Linked DNA regions of Homo sapiens: region 1 is linked to region 2. The links are contacts of gene promoters, found by promoter capture Hi-C in blood cells and fetal thymus (Javierre and others, 2016). All regions are on one chromosome and are shown on one strand. Each heading gives the region's core, a stretch centred on a gene start or on the middle of the fragment in contact. The rest is flanking DNA. Distances are from core to core; before and after follow the strand shown.

Region 1 (5,822 bases), core at 3,159-5,658, 38 kb after region 2:
ACTACTGGGAAAAGAAGTCATTACACGAAAAAGATACTTGCACACGCATGTTCATAGCAGCACAATTTGCAATCACAAAATCGTGGAACCAACCCAAATGCTCATCAATCAATGAGTGGATAAAGAAACTGTGATATATATGATATCTATATATGATATATGATATATATATATATATATTGATAGATATAGCTATAAGGTGGAATACTACTCTGCCATAAAAAGGAATTAATTAACAGCATTTGCAGTGACCTGGATGAGATTGGAGACTATTATTCTAAGTGAAGTAACTCAGGAATGGAAAACCAAACATTGTATGTTCTCACTGATATGTGGGAGCTAAGCTATGAGGATGCAAAGGCATAAGAATGATACAATGGTCTTTGGGGACTTGGGGGGAAGGGTGGGTGGGGGGTGAGAGATAAAAGACTACAAATAGGGTACAGTGTATACGGCTTGGGTGATGGGTCCACCAGGATCTCACAAATCTCCACTAAAGAGCTTACTACATGTAACCAAACACCTCCTGTACCCCATTAACCTATGGAAAAATAAAAAAATAAATAAATTAAATAAATGAATGAATATACTTCAGAATATGTTGGCAGTGAGTTTTCATCAGTTTCCGATAAGCGCCCAGGTGCTCTAGGGAGCACAAACAGCAAAACACTGAATCTTTACTTTAAGGTGCTCAGGGGATGGTTAAAACATACACCTCTGGAAAGACCCCAGAGGCGCCATGCAGATCAGGGGTCTGGGCTACAGGTCCTCATGGAGTCTAGAAGAGGGGGTTATTGAGGGCTGGTATGGACCGTGCTCGATGTCTTCATGGAACAAATTGTCCAAGAGCCTCGCTTTGAGGAGATTTTTGTAGGAACTAGGGGGTGCAGATGGGGAGAGAGAGCACTTAGAAGTAGAGCATGGGGTGGTGAAAGGACAAATTTCAGAGTGTCCAAGGCCTATTTATGCTTTAGGACAGACTAGAATCCTTACCATTGCCTACTAGGTTAGCAAGATCTAGCCCCAGCCTAGCTCCCTGTGCTCCAACCACAGGCCTGAGTTGAAAGAAAACTAAACTCCTGTGACTTATAATAAATACTGCCAAGGAGGGAAGGCGAAGATGTCAGTGTGACTCCATTGTGGCCTAAGGAAGATGTGTCTTGACTCTACACACAGACATACTGATCTCTTGGCAGGAAGCCCCTTGGAGTGGAGGTGGAGCGCTCAGGTGGGGCAGCTTGAGGTCCCTGGTCACTAAGATCTTTCCTCTGCTCTGACTCCAAGCAAATCAAGTTTCCTGAGTCATCTGACTGTGTCAACTGTCCCTGGGAAAGAATGCAGGCATAGCTGGCCCCTGAACAGATCCATTCCCCACTGTAGTGAGTGCCTGGGTATTTTATCTATCTCTTTTACGAGTTCTGTCCACTACCCACCAACACACAAAAGTACGCATTTCCCTTGTAGGCACGCCGTTGGGATTCCTGTGCTGAGTTCCAACATGTGGGTGTGTTCCCCCGGCCGAGGAGGGAAGTGTTAATTCCACACACCAGTCAATCATACAGGTAAAAGGTCTGCAACAGATAACAGGATGACAGGAAGTGGACTTTAAAGCAGGCACAGAAGACTTAGAATTTCTCGGGTGTCACCCCTTGGAGACTAGACATTGGCAATAGGCAACATTTGGATACTTGTCAGGAGTCAGGCCCCACCTCAGCTTGATTGATAGGTGAATGAAAATAAATTTTTCCTTAGAGTGAAACACCTAGAGAGTCTTGAAAAACCAGACCTTCACTAATTTGAGAGCATGAACCAAACTGATTATTTGCCTTGTCAAGATTCTTTCCAGGCCGGGTGTGGTGGCTCACACGGTAATGCTAGAACTTTGGGAGGCTGAGGCGGGCGGATTGCTTGAGTCTGGGAGTTGGACACCAGCCTGGGCAAAATGGTGAAACCCCGTTTCTATTTAAAAAAAAAAAAACAAAAACACTTTCCAGAGCAGTCAGGTGTGTACAAAATGCTGACCCCTGGTGGATATTTCCTGAACTACTCTTTTAGCTCCACATGAAGGAGACCCAGAGGCAAGACGTCAAAGCTAATCTTCCCTGTTTTTAAGCTTTCTCAGGTTTAAAGCTAAGAACCCAATAGATGAGTTTCATTGTCTCCAGAAACTTTTATGGAGAGAACTGGGCTGAATATCAAGCATGTTGAGATTTGCTGTTGTGGCTAGGGATTTCATAGTTATGTGAAGAGAAAACAAAAACTTATTTGGTTTCCCCAAGATTTGCAAGAATTTTACCCCAATTTGACACCCCCTGTTGAAGGCCAATTTATGTTCCCCCCAGAATGAAGCTTGAAATGTGTTTTAGCCAGCCTGTGATTGAGAAAATAGAAAATCTTCTACCTTCAACCCAAATTAACATGTAGTCAAAATGTACTGCTGATGCGGTAAGTGGCCTTTCTTTGAAGTTAAAGACCATCTCCCTCCATTGTATTGACAGACACTACCAGGGCCAGGTGGGAGAGCTGGGAGGACTTGACCTCAGGGTCCCTGACTTAGGAGCTATGTGGTCCACAGGGCCTCAGCCCTGGCATCATGATGTCCTTGTCCCACACCCAGATCAAGTGAATCAGAACCTCTGGATGGAGGAGGTAGGCCACTTTTGGTAAAAAGCTCCTGCAGGTCAGCCTGATGAAGACACATATCTAGTTCAATTCCCTCCTTTTATGAAAACTGAGGCCTAGGGAGGAGAGGTTGCTTGGCCAAGGGCCCCCCAGGGAGTCTGTAGGAAAACTCTGACTCACCAATGAAAGACCTGAATTCAGCCTTGAATTTTCAAACAGTTGTCCTTGATTCTGTAGTGTTGTAGTAGATCAGGCCCAGAAGTGACGGAAGAAGCCACAATCCTCTTGAGGCTTGCTTGTCTTCCCTCTCTGTGCTTTTCTCTCCCATCTCAGCCCCTCCACCTCCCAGTCACCTGTGCACCGCCTCCCAGTTGAACAAAAGCCTCACTTAAGCATGAACCCCAGGCCTGGCTTTCCTAATCCATGGCCCCTGCCTTGTGCTATATAAAGTGCTGGCCCCTTGATTATTAATTTCCTCACCGCAGGCTGAGACCAGACCTGGAATACCCCACCAAGCCAAACTCAAATGTTTGCACATCCACTTGCTTTAAACATAGCCCCAATAAGCCTATGGTAATCCATTTAGAACCTGCCTGCTCTGTATACTCCATGAAACTGTATCCAATATCTGCTGGCCAAGGATAAGCCCCAAGCCATAAAGGCCTCAAGCCACTGCAGCCCATAGGAGCTCTCTGACCCAGAGATTCCCTGCTGTGCTGCTGGGTGACTTCACCTGGCCATGTAAGCCCCCTTTCCAATTCTCTTCTTTCCTAGGAGTCCTCTTGCCCTCCTTCCCCTCTGAGTAGGACCCCATCTCCACACTATAGCCTCCTTGACCAATTCCTGCTATAAAGGACCTTCCCCAGTGTAAACCTGTTAAAGCATCAACCCGAAAGCCTATGTGTGCTACCGCCACCTCGTGGTCATATCTTTTTTCTTAACCTCCAAATATCTGAAAAATCCTTCACTCTGGGCCTTTTCCCTCTTCTAAGCTTCCTTCAAAATATTCCTGATCCAAGTCCCCAGTCTTCTCAAATTTGCTGACCTGTCGAATAAATTAATCCATATTGATATATCAGTGGCCAATTCATTTATTCACTGGCCAGATATTCACTTAGCACCCAGTATATCGCAAGCAATGGCCTTGGCACTTGAGATACACTGTAGAACAAAACAGACAAAAATATCTGCATGGGTTGAGCTGACATTCTAGCAGCACGATGATGATTTAAAGTTTTTCCTCTTAGGAATATTTTATGGAACACTTTAAACCAAAGTAAGGAAGTGTTTTGTTTTTTTGTTTGTTTGAGACAGGGTCTCACTATCACCCAGGCTGGGATGCAGTGGCATGATCTCAGCTCACCGCAACTGTCACCTTCCAGGTTTGAGTGATTCTCATGCCTCAGCCTCCCAAGTAGCTGGGATTACAGGCATGTACCACCATGCCTGGCTAATTTTTTGGCATTTTCAGTAGAGACAGGGTTTTGCCATGTTGGTCAGGCTGGTCTTGAACTCCTGGCCTCAAGTGCTCTGCCCACCTCAGCCTCCCAAAGTGCTGGGATTACAGGCGTGAACCACCATGCCCAGCTAAAGTGTTAAGAGGGGAGTTTTTGGTGTCATCAATGGGCTAGTGTGATAGAGAGTAAGGAGATGGGCTAGGTTTATAAGTAGGAGAATCCCTTTATGCTAGTGCGTATGCCAAAACTTATGCATTGTGCGATTTATGCTTTTTATTTTATCTTATTTCTTTCTTTATTTTGAGACAGAGTTTTGCTCTTGTTGCCCAGGTTGGAGTGCAATGGTGTGATCTCGGCTCACTGCAACCTCCACCTCCCAGGTTCAAGTGATTCTCCTGCCTCAGCCTCCTGAGTAGCTAGGATTACAGGTATGCGCCACCATGCCCAGCTAATTTTATATTTTTAATAGAGATGAGGTTTCACCATGTTGGTCAGGCTGATCTCGAACTCCTGACCTCATGTGATCCACCTGCCTCGGCCTCCCAAAGTGCTGAGATTACAAGCATGAACTACTGCACCCGGCTAATGCATTTTAAAACAGTGCTTCTCAAATTTAATGTGCATGGGAGATCTGGTTAAGATGATGACCCTAAGTCAGTAAGTCAAGCCTGAGATCTGAGAATCTGCATTTTAACTCCAGAAGTATGCTGATGTTGCTGATGCATGAACCACACTTGGAGCAATAAGGCTCTAAAGCAGATTCCTTTGAGCACTGACTCTTCTAGGACTAATAATAATAATAAGAATATGCCACTCACCACAGAAGGCTATTGCAAAGATTAAGTAACTTTGCAATAACTCAGCATTGCCTATTATTTGCATTTAGTGGTGGGAAAACCAAGGCTCTGAGGTGTTAACTAGCTTGCTTATGAGCACCCAGTGCAAGCAGGAGAGTCAGAGTGTGACTGCAGAGTCCCAGAGTTCACCCATGTGACTGTTTTGCTGCCTTGCCTGTTTCTAACCTGTAGCTTGCTGCTTGACCTAGTTTGCATGAAGAGTCTTAGCCTTGGGTTTTACCTTAGAGCCTCACAAATGTTAGCTGCTATTGTTGTCATTAAGCTTTGATGAGTTTTCTGCCTTGAACCTCCTCCTTTTACCAGGATTAAAAATATATCAACGACACATGCCCTGCCCTGCCAGCTACTTCCATTTTATATACAAGAAAGAGAAAACTCAGAGATGTTGGATGACCTCCTCAACGTCATAGGATCTTAGATCTAGAGAAGACCTTAAACATTTTCTCCAGTTTGTTGCCTTTTAGCCTATTTAGTTTAGTTTGCTTTTAGCAATGAAGTCTCCCTTTCAAACAAAGTCCCATGGGAGGTCCAAGTTGTAAAGAAGAGAAAAACAGAGGGCTCTGTTGGGAACAGGGTTCAAGGGATGAATCCTGGCCCATTTATCCTCCCCTCTGCAGGGTTTCCCATTTCCAGAGACCTTAGAGGGAAGGGTCCAAGGAGCTCTGTTTGGAAAATCCCCATCCAAATCAACATTCCCCTCAAACAAATGAGGAACAGTCCCCACAAAGGGAGGTGACTTGGCCAAAATCAGACAGCAAGTGCATGACCTCACTGGGGCCTGCCTCTTGGACTCCAGAGACCAAGCCCAGAATCTAACAGAAACAACCTGGGCAGGTGAAAGGACCACACTCCTCACTCTCCTGACTGTTTACTGAGGTGTGTTTGA
Region 2 (5,964 bases), core at 3,411-5,910:
AGGACATCCTGAATTTTTCATAAGATGAGAGGAAACCCCACTTGTCTCTCTTTGCACATATGTACTTGCAAATAGATATGTATATGTACATAAAGCAGCCCTCTAGGTACACGCTAATGCTGATACTAGATACAAGTGAGGATTGGACTTGCCTTCCCAGAAAAAAACCAGCGTTCCTTGCTGGGTTTTTTCAGAGGAAAAAAAATAAATACCAGAGGCTGCAGCAGCTTTCCGAGCAAAGAGAAGAGAGCAGATCTCTGGGGCCTGCAGCACCTGAGGAGCCTGGGAGGGGTGGGGGTGAGGAACTGGTCAGTGGAGGGGAGCCCAAGGCAATGGAGACAGGAAGGGTGGAGACAGATCAGGTATTCAGTGGGGACAAGGCATGTAGTTTGACTGGCTGCGACATTTTTTTTTAGACGGTATCTTGCTCTGTCACCCAGGCTAGAGTGCAGTGGCATGATCTTAGCTCACTGCAACTTCTGACTCCCAGGTTCAAGCGATTCTCCTGTCTCAGCCTCCCAAGTAGCTGGGACTACAGGCACCCGCCATCATGCCTTGCTAAGTTTTGTATTTTTAGTAGAGATGGGGTTTCACCATATTGATCAGGCTGGTCTCAAACTCCTGACCTCAGGTGATCCACCTACCTTGGCCTCCCAAAGCGCTGGGATTATAGGCATGAGCCACAGCACCTGGCCGGCTATGACTTTTTAAACCAATTAAACTCAATGTGACTATACTCCACCCCTCGCTTTTACTTTCTGAGCGTTTATCCCGGTGTGTAGTTGCCAGTGTGTTTACCCGCGTGGTTCTAGTTTGCCTAGAAGGTAAGCACCAAGATGGCAGGTTCTTTATGTTTCCTGTTCGCCACTGTGTCTCAGTATGAAAATATTGAATGGCATAGTCACATTATGTAACTGATTTGTCAACCACTCCGACCCACAAGGTCTGGGGGCATACTTTAGTTCAACTGGATTTGAAATTTAAAGATCAGCATTGACTTGAGGGGTTTAGTTCAAGTGGATTAGAAACTTAAAGGTTAGCGTTGACGTAAGAGGTTCAGGCCCCCCTGTGACTTGAGCTGGTGTGCGAACCCAGGTTACAGCTCTCTTAAGCATCATTCTCTCCTCCTGCCCCACTGATCAATTCTCTTGGACATTCCTGAATTCACTTGAGTCACTCAAACTCCTGTACAGCGCCTCCTTGACTGAGAGTCGGCGTTGTAGAACATTTGTGAAAATAAGAGAGGGGATGGCTAGATGAATGGACAGACAAATGGAGAGACACACTGATGGGATGGATCCTCAGAACTCTCCCTCCACAACAACCAGGCCAGAAGACGGGGAAGACCGAGGCTTGGAGAAGAGAATTAGCATCATTATAATATGAAGGCTTCCCCACGGGGGCCAGTCTGCCCATGACCAATCACCTCATCCTCCCCTCTCCAGGAAGTCCAGTGCTCCAAGGGCAGTGCTCCCCCAGAGGTAGGTTCCTACCAGGTCAGCAGCCAAAATGTCCCTGTGGGTCTTGGCTCCCAGGCAGCAACCCGAACAGAAAGGAGGACCCATTCAATTGTCTTGTTTGTGCTCTCCATTTGTGCAGGGGGCACTGTGTAACTGTGTGTTTAAAAGATGTCTTCCTTCTGTTTTTTAATTGCTCTTGCCTGAATGGAAAGGTAGGATGACCTAAAAGGTGAAGTCACCTCCTAAGGCCAAAAAGGCAGTCCTACCGGTCACCCAGGTGAGGGCGGTCTGATCTCAGAAGGGTGGAGGATGGAACTAGCCTTTGATCCCTGAGGTAGGATGGCACCCTCTAGGCAGAGGCAGGCCAGAAACTGGGCAGCAGAGCCCAGGTCTTACGCATCTAAAATTTTCTTGGTTTACTTGTGTTTTTCCACCCCTGGTGTTTAGCAAAATCTCTCTTGAAATCTCCTGTCTGTTATCCCAACCAGAACGAAAGCAGAAGGAAAGGAATTCGCAGCAAAGGAATCGCCACCTGTCACATCAGTTGAGTTCTGTTACCTCTACATTAAAGTGGCCCTTCAGTTTTTCTGAGCTCTGAGGTGGCTCTGAAAGTTTAAGGAGGGTTCAGAGGGGAGGGAGCCGAGGTGGGGAAGAGAGAGCACTGCTCCACTCTGCTGCCAACCAGCCACTCTTCTTGAGCACAGCTGACTACATTTCAGAGAATCTTCACCACGGTGGGGAGGGGGTGTATGTTTCTCATGGAGAATACTGCAAGGGCTAAGCCTTATGTCCCTCTTGTGGGAGGTGAAACACACAGAAAGCAATGGCTGAGGGACTAGAAGGCAGAGTCCCTCCCACCTGCCCCACCCCCGGCTTCAAGGCAATTTCTTTTTGACCCAAGGGGGCAGGAAGGAACCCAGCTGACACCTGGCACCCGGACGGTGCTTTCTAACAGTGAGTTTGTTTTTCACCCTCAGCCTGGCATTGCAGCCTTGTACCCTGGCTGAAGAACGGGGAGACCGGGCACAGAGGCTGGGGTATGAGCCTGCCCTGAGTAGGAAGGTGATGGCCTTGGGTGCCCTGCACTGACCACCCTCCTTTGCCCACTTCAGGGTCATAGTGAAGAATGCAGAGCAGAATCCCATCCTAACTCTACAGCTGACAAGCCATGTGGCTCTGGGTGAAAAACTCCACCTGGTTCCTTTTCTGTAAAATAAGGAACCAAGACCCAATAAAGCTATACTTCACAGGTTTGTTGTAAAGTTGGAATGGGTCTGAGTGCTGGGCCTGGCCCTTGGTGGGTGCTCAGGAAATACCGTGTCCTGCTCAGTTTAATTTTGTTGTTTTGCTGTCCATTTAGAGAAGCCAAAATTAACAAAAACAAACAAATAGCCCTCCTGGTCAGGCTCAGCTCTCAGCCTCCTCAAGGAGTCAGCCCTGAACCTTCATCCGGAGGGTGCCTGTCTCTGTTTCCCTTTTTGAGCTTCCAGACTCAGCAAGCAAACGCTCCCTCCTTTTACCCTGGAAATGTTTTCCCTCCTATGGAAAAGGTATGAAGGCTTCTGGCCGGTCCAAGGACTTAGGAGGTGACCTGTCCTGTCCCTCTGCAGCCCGAGAAGCTGCCGAATTACAGATGTTGCTGCAGGCAGGAACCATGAGTGGAACTCCCTGGCCTGGAGCTGCAGGACAGAGGCCTCTGTCTGAACCTGGGGTCTGAAGCACCGTGAGAGAAATGACTCGAGAAGGCCCCACATCCTGCCCACACAGAAAGAGCCATCATGCAAATTTGCACGCACACACACACACACAGAGAGAGAGAGAGAGAGAGAAGACAGTGCTACTGAAGGCCTGTGGTGAGGCCAGCAGAGGCTCAGGAAGGGAGCAGAGGATGGCGGTCTGAGGTAGGCAGAGAGTATCCAGGGGAGAGATCACGGGGGTAGGGACAGAATGACAAAGGGGACCCAGTACAGCTGCTGCCTGGGGAGGACAAAGACCCCTAGGGGGCTGGGGCCAGGCTGGGCCTCTCCTCCCTGGGTCCTCTCACCCCACATCCCTCACCCCTTCTGTGGGTCTCTCCCCCTTCCCCAACAAAGAGCTCAGCAGCCTGTGTTCTGATCCCCATGCTAGGCGGTTCCTTGTCTGTAGGAGGAGGGGGCCACGGGATGCTCTAGAGTCCTAGGCAGCTGGGAGACAGGCCTGCTTGGGGACCACTTTTTAAAGCTGGTCCAAGGTCCAATGAACGGAGGAGTATTTATCATCAGCTAATGACAGGCCACCCTTCCCTGCATTCTAGCAGAGGAGTGACTTCAACTGTGGAATTTTAGGCCCTGGAATAAGGGGGGAATGGCAGTGTCAGGGGACTTTCCCTCCATGCAGCTACCTTCACTATAACAATAATGACTACAGTGGGCCTTAGTTTCCTACACAGGCACACTTTGAGAGTTCAGTGGTTCCTGTTGCCCATCAGGACAACAGGCCTAAGCCAGAGCTAAACCAGTAAGGAGGGTCCCCTTACCTCTCCTCGAGCTTCTCCAGGATGGTCCTGGAAGGCAAGATGAAGCTGGGAGCCCCCTGATGGCCAAGTTGACTCTGAGCTCCTGCAGCAACCACACCCAGAGCCACCCCCACCCCAAACCCAGGCCTTCCAGACTCCCTCTCTCCAGAGTCTAGGGTCGAGAATCACTTGGGACCTTTGGCCACAAAAGCCCCCACTGGGTACTCAGCCAGAGCAGTCACTGGGGACGCAGTGACACTCACAAGAGGATTAGCAAGGAGCTTCCTTCACCCTTCACTATTGCAGACCTCCAGAGGCTCTGCGGGGAGCCAGGGAAGGGAAACAACAGAGGTCCGTGGGGCCAGGGCAGGGAATCAGAGAAGGGTCAGATGAGGAGGGGTAGGCTGAGGGAGGAGGGGGACGGGACACAGAGCAGGAAGGGGGAAGGAGGGGCCTAGCCTAGCCCAGGCTCATGGCAGGTGCACACGGCACTGCCAGAGCCCTCGCCTCTCCCCTGCCCACCTGCCCCAGCCCCTGCCACAAGGACCCACATGTGACTCTCCACATTCCCTGCTCCCACAGGTTCCACCAGCCCCAACCTAGGCAGACCCACTTAGCTCACCTCCAAAGGACCCAAGAATGGATGGCTTGGCCTGGGCTCCCCAAGAGCACTTCCTGGCTCACAGTCGGCTTGCCCAGTGAATGTGGCTGTGACGGCTGGAGCTTCCGACTTCCGCTCCTCCTCACCACAACACACACCCCTCCTGCTCCCCGCCGCCTCCCCAGGGTTCCCTAGCTGCTCAACACCTCACACTTCCTGCCCACAAGATAAGAGCCTCTCTTCCTAGGCCCAGCGCCTGCAGCCCCTTTCCCCATGCCCCTGCTCCTTGGAGGCCCCCACCCTGCACACCAGCCTAGAAAGAACCTGCCATGGTGGAACTGGCCTCTCCCTGCCATGCAGGGGCCTGGGATTGAAAGGGGAAGGGGCCGAGGCCTGGTTGGTAAGCAGGCCCCACCTCCTTCCTCCCTGCGCTTCTGCCCCAGGTTCTCAGTCTTGCTCTGGCTCTTGGTCCCCTGCAGGGCACCCAGTGAGAGACAGGAGGGCCCTAAGTTGGGCAATTTCTGGTTTTAAAACAAATGACATTTCAATTTTTGTGTGACTATGTCTCATGTCACTGGTAATAATGCAAATGATACAATTGCCTTTTAGTTACAAAGTTTCTCCCAATAGTACCTCAATCCCTCCTCACACCTACTTTATGAAGCATTAATAACCCCATCATACAGATCCGGATCTGGAGGCAAGCTCAGAGATGCTAAGCCACTGCCCAGGGTTGCACAGCTGGAAAATTACAAAGCTGGGGTTAGAATACAGAGCCTGTGACTATATGAACCAAGGGACCTCCATTCCCCGTGGCTGAATTCCCAACACACGTCCTCAGGACACCGGCCGCAGTGTCCACAAGTGTAAGTGAGGCTGGTGGGGAGCGCAAACACCATGCCATTCTCCTCCCTCCACACAATCTACTTCCTCAACATCAATGACCGTCAACTTCTCTGCTGAGGCTCCACCACTCCCACCCTCCCTGAACTCTCGTCTTCATGATTCCAGCTGACCCAGAGACTCCCTCACTTGCATGTCCACACAGCAGTGGGGACCAGCCACCCTGACCCAGAGTTGAGAGGGTCGGGCTCTAGCTCACCTACAGCCGCACCCCTCCCTGCAGGGTACAGAGTCCACAGGAACATACCAACATGGAGCCCGTGCACCCTGCTTCTCCACCACACTCTGCGTGCCCCAGATCCCGAGACTCTCCACTTCTGGGGCCCAAATGGCCTCCTCCCCATGTGGGCACACAGCACCGCTGCCCTATGCAGCCTGAGACTGGGTGAAGCGCTGGCAAGAGTCCTGATAGCAGAGACGGGAGCAGGTAGAGAGAGCTCAAACCTTTGGGCAGGTCACCCACCCACATGCACGTGTGATACAGAGCAGGGTGGGGAAGAGAAAGG

The links. Contacts are between HindIII fragments. The CHiCAGO score rates a contact against its expected background, and 5 or more counts as called.
Region 1: a contact is called between a fragment that was not itself captured here and the fragment with the promoter of PSD4 in region 2, in 2 of 17 cell types (total CD8 T cells and naive B cells). The highest score is 5.6, in total CD8 T cells.

The regions. Positions count from the first base shown.
Region 1 is chr2:113,134,780-113,140,601 of GRCh38, reverse strand. No RefSeq gene overlaps it. Among named protein-coding and RNA genes, the nearest start is that of IL1RN, 10 kb to the right of the region's middle. RefSeq lists a silencer at 4,986-5,135. The HindIII fragment of the contact is 1,584 bases long and covers 3,617-5,200 here.
Region 2 is chr2:113,172,667-113,178,630 of GRCh38, reverse strand. It overlaps PSD4 (pleckstrin and Sec7 domain containing 4), which reads right to left and starts at 4,660. Exons shown (of 17, transcript NM_012455.3): 1 at 4,577-4,660. LOC124907872 (a long non-coding RNA gene) reads left to right here and starts at 2,863. Exons shown (of 2, transcript XR_007087197.1): 1 at 2,863-3,361. RefSeq lists enhancers at 4,088-4,177, 4,798-4,967, 5,018-5,087, 5,317-5,817, 5,818-5,964. The HindIII fragment of the contact is 16,060 bases long and covers 1-5,964 here.